2 separate regions of the Homo sapiens genome follow, and region 2 is linked to region 1. The links are contacts of gene promoters, found by promoter capture Hi-C in human tissues and cell types (Jung and others, 2019). All regions are on one chromosome and are shown on one strand. Each heading gives the region's core, a stretch centred on a gene start or on the middle of the fragment in contact. The rest is flanking DNA. Distances are from core to core; before and after follow the strand shown.

What was found. The method cuts DNA at HindIII sites, captures the fragments that hold promoters and counts their contacts. A contact is called where the count stands out against the background at its distance.
Region 2: the fragment with the promoter of KCNE1 here is called in contact with a fragment that was not itself captured in region 1 in 1 of the 25 tissues and cell types used here (liver).

The regions. Positions count from the first base shown.
Region 1 is chr21:34,055,182-34,061,499 of GRCh38, forward strand. No RefSeq gene overlaps it. Among named protein-coding and RNA genes, the nearest start is that of MRPS6, 15 kb to the right of the region's middle. The HindIII fragment of the contact is 6,965 bases long and covers 861-6,318 here.
Region 2 is chr21:34,510,365-34,515,994 of GRCh38, forward strand. It overlaps KCNE1 (potassium voltage-gated channel subfamily E regulatory subunit 1), which reads right to left and starts at 1,846. Exons shown (of 4, transcript NM_000219.6): 1 at 1,663-1,846; 2 at 737-951. The HindIII fragment of the contact is 8,709 bases long and covers 1-5,630 here.

The DNA.
Region 1 (6,318 bases), core at 3,093-5,592:
CTAGGAGGTTTTCTGATTTCTGGTACAAGGCCTGGGTATGTGGTGGGGCCATTCACAGGACATGAGACTGGAGGTGGCGCAGCCTAAAGGCAAGATACTGGGTTCAGCTGACACCTGGAACACCCAGGTAGAAATGTCTAATGATCAGCCAAAACCTGGGCCTGGGGCCAGGAGACAGGTCTGGGCTGGAAGAAGGTCTGGACATCAGCAGGGTCTGGGCAGTGCTGGAAACCAGACAGTAGGAGGAGAGCACTCAGAGAGGGAGCCCTGTGGGGTGGGCACAGCAGTGGTCTTGGGGGCAGATGGAAGGAATCGGCAGAGGTGACCCAAAGCTGGCTAGCTGGTGGCAGTGGAACCAGTTATGGTTTGGGGGGGTGGAACAAGTTATGGTTTGGGGGAATCAATGGCAGCTGCAAGAGGACCTTGTCATTTTCACCTGCAATAGTGAAAGAATGCCCAGGTTGGAAGCTGAAAAAATAAAATCCAAGATAGAATGAGGTGGGAGGAATGGGCTGAGGCAGGCAGCTTGGAACCAAGAAGGAAGTGGATGCTGGAACTCCCTTTTTATATGGTTCCCTGGGCGAAGTGCAGGGTGAGGTGGCTTTCAGGAACCATTGGGATGAGGCGGTTTCTGCCTTTGAGTAACTTTCCATGCCACCACCCAGGAGATTAGAGCTTCTTCTTCTTTTTTTTTTTTTTTTTTTTTTTTCTGAGACAGAGTCTCGCTCTGTTGCCCAGGCTGGAGAGCAGTGGTGTGATCTCGGTGCACTGCAACCTCCACCTCCCTGGTTCAGGCAATTCCCCTGCCTCAGCCTCCCGAGTAGCTGGGATTACAGGCACATGTCACCATGTCTGGCTAGTTTTCTGTATTTTTAATAGAGACAGGGTTTCACTATGTTGGCCAGACTGGTCCTGAACTCCTGACCTCAGGCAATCCACCCACCTCGGCCTCCCAAAGTGCTGGGATTACAGGAGTGAGCCCTGTGCCCGGCCAGAGCTTCTTTTAAAAATATGTGCCTGGGGTCCTGGCCTTCACCTGTACTTTGCCTGTAATTTTCCACCTCTTGGTCTTTACTGTATAGCACTTGAGCAATCAGCTGTTCAGGGTGGTACAGCTGGAGGCACCATATGCACTTCGGCAATTACATGTCTAGACTCATTACTTACTTTCTTTTGGCACTGATTCCACATGATTCGGGCATTTCCAATCATCCCTAGTTCCACTTCTTAGATCTTCTGACCTCCTGGCCTAGCCCTGGAGAAATTTTATTGCAGTGTTTCGGGTACTGAGAACACAGGATCCTTGCTGGCCTCAGTTTCCCGTAGCTCTGATTTTTTTTTTTTTTTTGAGATGGAGTCTCGCTCTGTCCCCCAAGCTGGACTGCAGTGTGTGATTTCAGCTCACTGCAACCTCCGCCTCCCAGGTTTAAGCAATTCTCCTGACTCAGCCTCCTGAGTAGCTGGGACTACAGGTCTGCACCACCATGTCTGGCTAATTTTTTTGTATTTTTAGTAGAGATAGGGCTTCACCATATTGGCCAGGCTGGTCTCAAACCCCTGATCTCAGGTGATCCTCCTGCCTGGGCCTCCCAAAGTGCTGGGATTACAGGCGTGAGCCACCGAGCCTGGCCCCCTAGCTCTGATTCTAACCCGAGGCCTGCTCAGCACTGCTGATGCCCTATTTGGAAAAAAAACATTTGGCAATGGACCCAAGAAGCCATCAGTTTCAAGAAATTCCGCTTTGGAAGGCCAAGCAAAGGAAGCATTCCTAAATGCAGAAAAAGCCAGAGAACAAAGATGTTCATCTAGGGATTTGCTATACAAATGAAGAGTGAAAAAGTGTCACCTGAAACATCCAAGAGCAGGGGAAAGATTAAATGGACACCGGCATTTCCTGGAGTAGGATATAACACAGCAAGTCTAAATAACAGTTATGAATGTTAGTTAAAAACATTGACAAGCTCATGATTAGATATCAATGAAAAAATGGAATATAAAATTATATGTACCGTCTGATTAAATAACACATATCCATAAAAGTTTAGAAAGAAACCTCTAAAGTGTCAACAGTGGCTCAGCTTGGATTGTGGGATTATGGGCATTTTTTTGTTTCCTGAATTTTCCGTAGTAAGGTTACAGTAATCTTACAATAGCAAAATACAAATAACAATCTTTTAAAACCCTGAAGCCTAATTTGACAGGTACCTCCTCTTCTCAATTGTCCCTCAAGCATGGGCTGTCCCTGTCCTGTCCCCAGCCTGGCCTTCCTGCTCCCTATGACTCGATTCCTCCTCTTGGCTTATCTATTGATCTGGGGAGGTTTTACAGAGGCTAGCCAGAAGCTTGTGGGCACAGCCTCCTGGGCGGAACCAGACCCCCTCCCTGGGGTAGGGCAGCCAAGGCTCTCTGGTTTTGTTTTTGTGTGTGTGTGTTTTTGTTTTATTTTGTTTTTTTTTGAGACAGAGTCTCACTTTGTCACCCAGGCTGGAGTGCAGTGGCAAGATCTCTGCAACCTCTGCCTCCCGGGTTCAAGCAATTCTCATGCCTCAGCCTCCTGAATAGCTGGGATGACAGACATGTGCCACCACACCTGGCTAATTTTTGTATTTTTAGTAGAGATGGGGTTTTGCCATGTTGGCCAGGCTGGTCTCTAACTCCTGGCCTCAAGTGATCTGTCTGCCTCAGCCTCCCAAAGTGCTGGGATTACAGGTGTGAGCCACCGCGCCCCACCTCAGGGGTGTTGACTTTTAAAATGTGGGAAGAAGACAATTAAATGAGGGCTTTAAAGCTTTACATGCAGTGAGCAAGGAAGCTTCTGGAAAGCATTTGAGGCCCATTTCCCACGACTTGTCCCTGACAGTAGCTATGAAAATCCCGGGGTGGGGCTCATGGGAGTGAGGTATGCATCCTCTTGTGGGACGCTCTGGCTGAGCAGCGCAGGCCAAGAGACTTCCAGGCCACAAGGAAATAACACCATCAAGACCGGAGCGATGGCATCACGGGTATCCCCTCAGGAAAAACTCAGAAGCTGGCACAGAGGGGCACGCTGGCTGAGGTGGGGTAAGCTTCCTGGTACTCGGGAGGTCTGCTAACAAGAGGACAGGAAAGGAGACTGGGACTGGATGGCGTGGTAAGATAGGGACCTGGGCACAGGGATGGGTCACCAGTGTGTGTTGTAGCTGCTCTAGGCAGGGTAAATATTTCCCACCTGAGGAGGGAGAAAAATGCCAGTGGTGTTGCAATGTTACTGTTTTGCACAGCTGCGGACCCAGAAAAGGAGAAGGACACCCTTTCCTGCCCTACTCTAGATTAGAAGATTCCCGCTGTCTTCTATTCCTCCCCAGCTGTTTGTGTTTCAGGCCTTCTGAGGGGGATCATGCTGAAGGCACCTCCAGGGAGAGAGGATGTGGGGGGAGCAGCAATGGCAGAGACCTATGTCCCAAATGGAACCCATGGCTCCAAGGCTGAGGCTCCTCAAGCCTCCAGCTAGACCCCCTTTTTCCTCATCTCCCTCCCTGGGAACTCAACCTAGCCAAAGGCTTCAGGTACCACCCTCAGAGGGGGCACAGAGGTTGATATCCCCAGTTAAGTGGGGACAGCCCACCATCTAGAGCAGGGGTGTCCAATCTTTTGGCTTCCCTGGGCCATACTGAAAGAAGAATTGTCTTGGGCCACACATAAAGCATGCTAACACTAACAATAGCTGATGAGTTTTTTAAAAAATTGCAAAATAAACTCATAGATTTTAAGAAAGTTTACGAATTTGTGTTGGACTGCATTCAAAGCCATACTGAGACATCCTGGGCCACACTCAAAGCCATCCTGGGCTGCATTCGACCCATGGGCCATGGGTTGGACAAGCTTGATCTAGAGGAAATTCCTACCTTATTCTGCCAGCAAATATCTATTCATCACCCTCTGTGTCAGGCATTGTATCAGGGGCCAGGACCTTACCATGATTAGACCAAGGCCCTGTTCTCTGGAGCTTACATTCTACTGAAGCCTCACGGCACTGCAAACCCATTATGTGCTGCAGGCTAACACTGATGGAGCCGGGCACTGTGTTAGAGCCAAATTAGAGCTCCTTACATCCCTTCTGCTCATTAGGATCTGCTTCTTCTCAGCTCCTGGAGTGCCACTGAGCCTTCAAGTGGAGTCAGGTTTCCCCAGCTGTGGAAAGAGGGGACATCTGGGGAATAAGAGTCAAGCAGAGCTTGGTGATCTGAATCAATTTTTCTTTTAAAGCATTGGGCCTTTGTAGCAATAATGGCAAACCGCTATTAAGCACTTCCCACACTGCAGGCTGCACTGTACTTTCCGTGTATTGTGTGTGGTATATTGGACACGACCCTATGCCTTAGGTCTGATTATGTTACAGATGAGGAAACTGAACCACAGAGTTCAGTTACTTGTTCAAGGGTACACAGTCATTGGACACAGGCGGTCTGGCTTTGGCTCCATGCTCTTGACCACCAAGCTGTACTGCTGCCAACTAGCCACCTTTGGTGAGACCTGCTCTGCCTACAATTCTCTTGGATAGTTCTTCTCTTGGAAGCAAGAATTTGTATGCCATCACTGTACTCTCGTGGATTCAGATGGATCTGAAGATGGATGTCAAGTGAGATTCCTCCTCCTGATCAGAGATGGTGGTATCTGCTGTCACTTGAACTTGGCATGTGTGTCCTCAGGATACCTGGGCTATGGGCTAGCCATCTTCCATGGTGGGCATGTAGAGGCAGAGAGTGCTTGTCTCCAAACAGACAAGATGGCATGGGGAGGGTGGGGTGATGTCAGACACTTCATGAGCAGAGCAGAGACAAGATACATGTAGTCCCAGAGAAACCAAGGATGTCTTGTCTAGTTCCCCAGGAGCCCTGGATGTACGTTCTGTTACTGGATTCTAGGATGCACTCTTGAGTCCTTTGATACATCCTTGTTTTTACTTTTTTAATGTAATAATTACAAAATGATGGCCAATGAGATTGGCGAAAATATAAAGAGTGTTGCAAATAGCACTCATTCAACGAATCCTAATCTTTCAGCAAAGAGATTAGCCTGGTGTGTGTATGTATGGGTGAAAGTGTGCATGTATTTGTAGGATCTGCCCACTCAAATCAGGTGATGAAAAGTTGACAGAGGTTTCAATTAAGATTGACATAAGGTGAAATTTGAAAGCCACCCAGAAAACACATGATACACTGTTATGAAACTAAATCCCAGGGCAAAGATGTGGGCACAGAGGGACTCTCTTGACACAGCTGACAAGTTCCAACTCTACTATTCCAACTCCAGTATTCATGGCTGCTCAGGCAAAATCATTCTGGAAGTACAAAGCACCTGTGTCCAGATTTGGTGTTTACTTCTCTACCAAGAACTTGAATTTGTAACTGAGTCAAGGTCCTGAATCTGCCACCAGTAGACTCAGTTCACTGGAGACAGCAACTCTCTTCCCCTCAGTTGGGTAAGGGACTTTGCAACCCTGGGAAAATGTAGAGACTAGTGTAGAATCAATGAGGAGCAGAATCAAAACCAGAATACTATCATATTTTACTGATTCTAAGGTGCACAGTGTTTTACATTTTACCATCTTGGGAATTAGAATGCATTTTACAATCGATGGCATCAGGCCACGCACAGTGGCTCACACCTGTAATCTCAGCAGTTTGGGAGGCTGAAGCAGGTGGATCGCCCAAGGTCAGGAGTTTGAGACCAGCCCGGTCAACATGGCAAAACCCTGTCTCTACTAAAAATACAAAAATTAGCTGGGCATGGGGTGGGCACCCTATAATGCCAGCTACTCAGGAGGCTGAGGCAGAAGAATAGCTTGAATCTGGGGGGTGCGGCATGGAGGTTGCAGTGAACCGAGGCTGTGCCACTTCACTCTGGCCTGGCAAAAGAGTGAAACTCTGTCTGGAAAAAAAAAAAAAAAGAAAAGAAAGAAATCAATGGCACCATATGATTATAAATGGTGATCTAAAATAAAAGTTGAAAATTTCCAAAAAATTATAAATGTTTGTGTTTTTTCTACCTTAGTGATATCCTAAAAAAAAAGTTGAATCTTATATCTTAGATTCAACAAAATATAGCACTCTGCTTTAGTTAGTTTAACTGTCTCTCCCAAAAAAAGTGTGATGAAAACTTAATTCCCAATACAACAGTGTTGTGAGGTGGGGCCTAATGAGAGGGTGATTCAATATGAGAATCAATAAAATATGACAATACTCTGGTTTTGATTCTGCCCTCATGAATGGATTAATGCTATTATTGTGGGAGTGGGTTCCTTACAAAAGGATGAGTTTGGCCCCCCCTTGGCCTCTG
Region 2 (5,630 bases), core at 596-3,095, 450 kb after region 1:
CCTGGTCAGGTCACCTCTGGTCTCACTTTCCATTCTCCCCTCCTTCCTCCCCTCCAGCCACAGGGTCCTTCTCGATGTGCCCAGACATGGTGGGTGCACACTTGTCTGACAGCCTCTCTTCTTTTCCCTTTGCTTGGAATGCTCTCTTCCCAGTTACCAAAGATACTCAGGCTCTCTCCCCAATTTCCTTCAGGCCCTTGCTCCAAAAGCTCCTTCCGGGTGAAGCCTCCCCTCCCATCCTCCTTAAAGCTTCAGCCTCTACCTGGGACACTTCCTCCCCCACTGCCTGCCTCCTTGAAACTCTCCTTAGTCCTCTTGCAGCCCACACAGCTGAACACAGGCAGGAGGGGGCGCTGCTGCCCTGGCTGGTGTGCAGCCACCAGAGGCTGAAGCTCACTGACGTCTGTCTGGGGCCCAGGATCACCTTCCTTGATTCCAGCTCTCTCAGGCTGTCAGGACCTGGCGCTGGGAGGCACTAGGCCATGCCCTGGCCTGAGGCCTTCTCTCTCCCTCTTTGCCCTGTGTCTCTGCAGGGAAGCCCGGCCCTGCCCCTGGGAGGGTGGGGGCAGACGTGTGGAGAGTGGGTGTACAAGGCCAGGGTTTGCCAGGCCCAGGACAGCCTGGCACCTGTCAATGGATGAGCGCCTCTCCCTTAGCCTGATGTCAGGGTGGGCATGAGGGTGGGAGCAGAGGGTGCCTAACTGAGGAAAGGGTCTGTGCAACCCCCTTCTCCTACCAGTTCTCGTTTCTGAAGTCTCCTCAAGCACACTGCGGTGTCCACACCATTGGCAGCAGGCTCCTTCTCTTCAGGTGGTCTTAGGAACTTCTCAGAACTTTTTGAGTTATCCTTCTGGTCTCTTCCTCCTGAGCACGGTTCTCCTGGTTGAGCTCCAGGCCATGCCATTCAACGCCCTCCAGGACAGGCCGAAGGGCTTGTCTGTTTGGTGGTTGCTAAGGTTTGAAAAAAGCCAGCTGGAAACTTAATCCCCAAAGCAACAGTGTTGGGAGGTGGGACCTAATGGGAGGTGTTTAGTCATGAGGGCTCCACCCTTATGAATGGATTCTCTCTCTCTTGTTCTCTCTCTCTCTCTTCCCGCCCCGCCCACCCCTCCTTCCCCAACCTTGTGATACCTTCCACCATGTCATGGCAAGAAGGCCCTTGCCAGATGTGGCCCCTCCATCCTGGGTTCCCAGTCTCCAGAACCATGAGCCAAATGCATTTCTGTCTGTTACAAATTATGTACGGTGTGGTTTTCTGTGATGAACACAGTGCTGTACCAGGGCCCTCTTGCCAAGACAGCCAGCTTATAGGAGCCTGCATGTGAGGCCCGGACGTCCTACAGAGCAGCAGTTAGAGGTCTGGCCTTCTGGATAGGCACTGCCCTGCCCTGCACACAGGACCTTGGTGGGGCATGATGGGGCTCTTCACCACGCTGCCCTCATTTTAGGAGGTGGGCAACCCTTTCTCCCCCTTCTCCATGTGCTTCTGCAGTTGGAAGAAGTGAGGGGGGTTCAGACACACTTAAGCTGAGCTTAGAGCAAAGCATGTCCCTCAAGGTGACCTTGCCGCATGGCCTGAACCTAGAATTCCCCTGACCAGGGTGGACAGCCATCACCATGGGCCTTTCTGCCTGGCCTAGTATGGCTCTCCTTCGAACTCACCTAGACCCTTGCATCAAAGGACTCGGGGACTCTGCTGCAGTCATCCTAGCACGGTCGAGAGGAGTAGGAAGGTGCCCAGCGGCTCAGCCTTTAAGGAGGTCTATTGGTCACCATTGCTTCTGCCTTCTTGAGAACCATCACCCTCGGAGGATCCGGTAGTGTATCCCAGTCAAGTGTCAAATGCGTTGTTCCCTGGAGAGGAAGGCTTATTTCCAGAAAGTACTCTGACGTTTTGTAATTTGTGATTTCTATCACTGGCTCAGTGGCCTACCCACTGCTCAGCTCATGTGGCATGACCAGGCTGGGGCGTCGGGTCATCTTGTTCTCTGGGTGTGTGGCAACACTGGTTTATGGCGTAATTTCCTTCCTGAGAAGAAATTCAGTAATTTCTAATATTCAGGGCTTTAGGTAGAGGCCTGAAAATCACTCTCCATGCCTCTTTCAGTATTTTATATATAGTTGTCTCTTGGTATCCATGGGGTTTGGTTCCAGAATCCCCTGCAGATACCAAAATTTGCGAATGTTCAAGTCCTTTATATATAGTGGCATAGTATTTGCATATAACCTATGCATATCAGCCAATCATAGATGGTGATTTAAATCATCTCTTGATTACTTCTAACACCTAATACTATGTAAATGCTTTGTAAGTAGTTGTTACCTGGCATTTTTTTATTTGTTTTATTTTTGTTGTTGTTTCATTAATTTTATTTTATTTTTGGAATATTTTCAGTCCATTGTTGGTTGAATCCACAGATGCAGAAGCCTTAGACACAGAGGGCCGACCACACCTATGTATGCTGTTCTTAAAGTAGCAACATATTTGTTCTGAACATAGAAGAAATTAGTCGTCTATTAGACTTTAAGGGAGTAAATATGGTCCAAGTTGATTTTTAAATTTAGCAAATAGTCATAGACATATCAGTGTCTTACAGAAAATATTTATTGGAATGCTCACTCTCTCATTTGGGATACTGCTTTGCCTTGCTGTGTCTTAAGAATGTCATCAGAGCATCACACACTTGAAAAACGTTTTTAAAAGGATATGATGATAATTAAGACCTTCTCCCCAACCCCTGCCCATTATCCAAGATCAATGTTTTTTTCCTTTATCCTGATTTTAAAATCAAGTACACTTTATTGAGGCATACTTTACATGAAGCAAAATGTACCCTTTCTAAATATGATAAGTTTGATGAGTTTTCAACAGATGTATACAGCTGTTACCATGACTGTGTCTTTACCCAGGTTCTTGCATTGCTCAATCCAGATACAGAATGTCTCCATCACCCTGACAAGTTCCTTTGTGCCGCACCCTCTAGCCAATCATCTGTTTTGAGGAGAGTTTTAAAACAAAGGTTTTTGTTCTTTTTCACTGATGACCATAACCTACCACAGACAGGGTCTCTCTCTCTCTCTCTCTCTCTTTTTCCCTGTTCTTGCGCCAGCTGCCTGACAATTTGTGGGATTAAAGCTCTAAGCTGCTTACTGGCTCTTCTGACTAGGGAGAGGGAGCAAGCCTCATTATTTTTCTATTCTTTTCAGTGACTGCTCACTCCTCTTCCTCCAAAATCCCTATCCATCCATCCATCCATCCATCCATCCATCCATCCATCCATCCATCCAACTTTCCATCTACCCATCTATCCTTCCATCTATCCAATCCACTTGCGTGTTGAACGTCTACTATGAGCCATTGGCTACCAGGAATCCCACTTCCACCCAAATTATGTTTCAACAGGGAAGACAAACAATTTAACAATTACGATAAAAAAGAAAATATGCCATACAATGGAAAAGAAGGGGGCATGATGGGAGACCCAGCGGGAGTAGCTGGCAACGATTCTTAGGGGGAAGAGACATTCCTAATAGACACCTGCAGGAGAAATATTAAAGAGTCAATCATTTCAGTAGCGCTTATTGTGACCAATAATGCAAGAAGTTTCTGGGTTCCCAGGCTGATGGGTTTGAAAGTCACTGCATCATGAATGTGCCCAGGACCCACACGTTGTTTTGTAAGAGAGGGGTTCAGTAAAATGTGAAATGACCGACATTCAACAGGCAGAACTGTGCAGAATGCACGCTTTGCCACTGATTGAAAGTGTTTCTTCAGTAGGTTTTGATAGAATATATTACTAATCTGGTAAGAAACAGCTTAGGGCCACTCAAGAAAAGAAAAGCAGCCCCTAGAAACATGTTCTGTGGCTGGGCACAGAGGTAGCTGCTGGAATTTGAACAGGGGTGAGCAGGACCTCGTGGACCTCATTGTGGGGTTAGCAGGGCTGGGCTGGGACAATGAGATCATTTTCTAGGCAGAGAAAAGACAACATGGTAAGTTAAAAACACTGAAAAGTCTGCGCTGCCAGAGTACAAATGTCAGCCAGGAGGGCCCTGACACTCTTGAAAGAGGGATTTGAGCAGTGGCCACTGCATCTACTTGGCACTCGTTCGCTGTGTAGAAGGGTCACCGAGTCCCTCATCAGAATCCTGAAAGAAGGAGAAACGGTGGGCACAGGCAGCACACCTCAATCACTTGTGAATAATTTCCTTCTGTCTTTCATAAACATAGCTATGATTGAAATGACCTTTCACGAACAGCAGGGAAGGATTGTGGAAGAAAATGAGGTATGTGAGAAGCAAATCCATCTACCTGATTGCCATGTAACTTTCGGTGAGTCACGGAGTGAGAATTTCAGATGTGAATTAAGGATTGCCAAGAGTGGTGATATACTTGAAAAGTTTCCTCCACGTTCTACTCCCTGTTCTACTTTAGAATCAGGAGGCCAGAGAGGCAGGAGGGAAGAGTACTTGTTATTCATAGTGGACCTTCTTCCTGAATAATTTTTAGGGTAATTATGTATGCAGCTTCCACCTGAGTCACTGACCTTTGGGTGAATGTTACTGGATATGTACCTATGATACCCAGGCAAACTTTCTGCGGGTTCTACGGGCACTGTGAAGTGTGACAGACTTTGGCTGCGCGTTCACTTTTGATCATAACACGTCCATAGAGTGCTTTTAATCTCCTGCAACTTAACATATGAGAAAATCGATTTATTTTGTAGTGAGTTCTGCACATTTCACAGAAAATTAAAGCTCTCTGAAAACCCAAATCTTCTGTGGGCAGTAATTCACACACAATATTCTGGAAATGTAAAATCCCAAATGCCTGCTGACTTCAAATCAATGTTTATAGCTTGTGTCTGAATAGCTCCATGAATTGCTCCGCTCCTCTCCTTCTACTGCCCTTCGCTTTGATTTAGCCACTCATTTCCAGGGGCTGATTTTCTTTTTTTGCATGGCCCTAAGCTGTTTCCCATCAGATTAGTAACATATTCTATCAAAGCCTATTGAAGAAACACTTTCAATCAATGGCAAAGTGTGCATCCTGCATGATGCTGCCTGTTGAATGTCGGTTGTTTCACATTTGACTGAACCCCTCTCCTACAAAGCAATGCGTGGGTCCTGGGCACATTCATGATTCAATTACTTTCAGGCCCATCAGCCTGGGAACCAGAAACTTTGTGCATTATTGGTTTTACAATTTCAGCTGAGGCTTCCACAGAACAACTCAGAAGAAATAGGCTGTCCTGAGTGAGCCTTTTCCTTGACTTGTATTTTCTATTCTAAGGTCTATTGGCTTCACTGGCAGTGGGACCACTGACTTTTTCCCTCCTTTATCTAAGGGGACCTGTTGAGAGTCTCTATTTGGAAATATTTCCTGCCTGTCCTTAGTGGGGGTCAATGCCTGAATCTGTCCAATAATCAGATTTGACCAACTTGGTGGAAGTGTGGATTTTCCAGCACGATTAAACCTTGAACATATATGGCTTGAAAATGTGCAAATACTCTTGGAAATGACAGGATCATGGTTCTCAAGACAGAGAAAAAAAAGTAGCATGTGAATTTTCATAGATAAACGCCTAATGCTAATGTTGATCAGGATTAATGTCATTTCCTAGATTTCA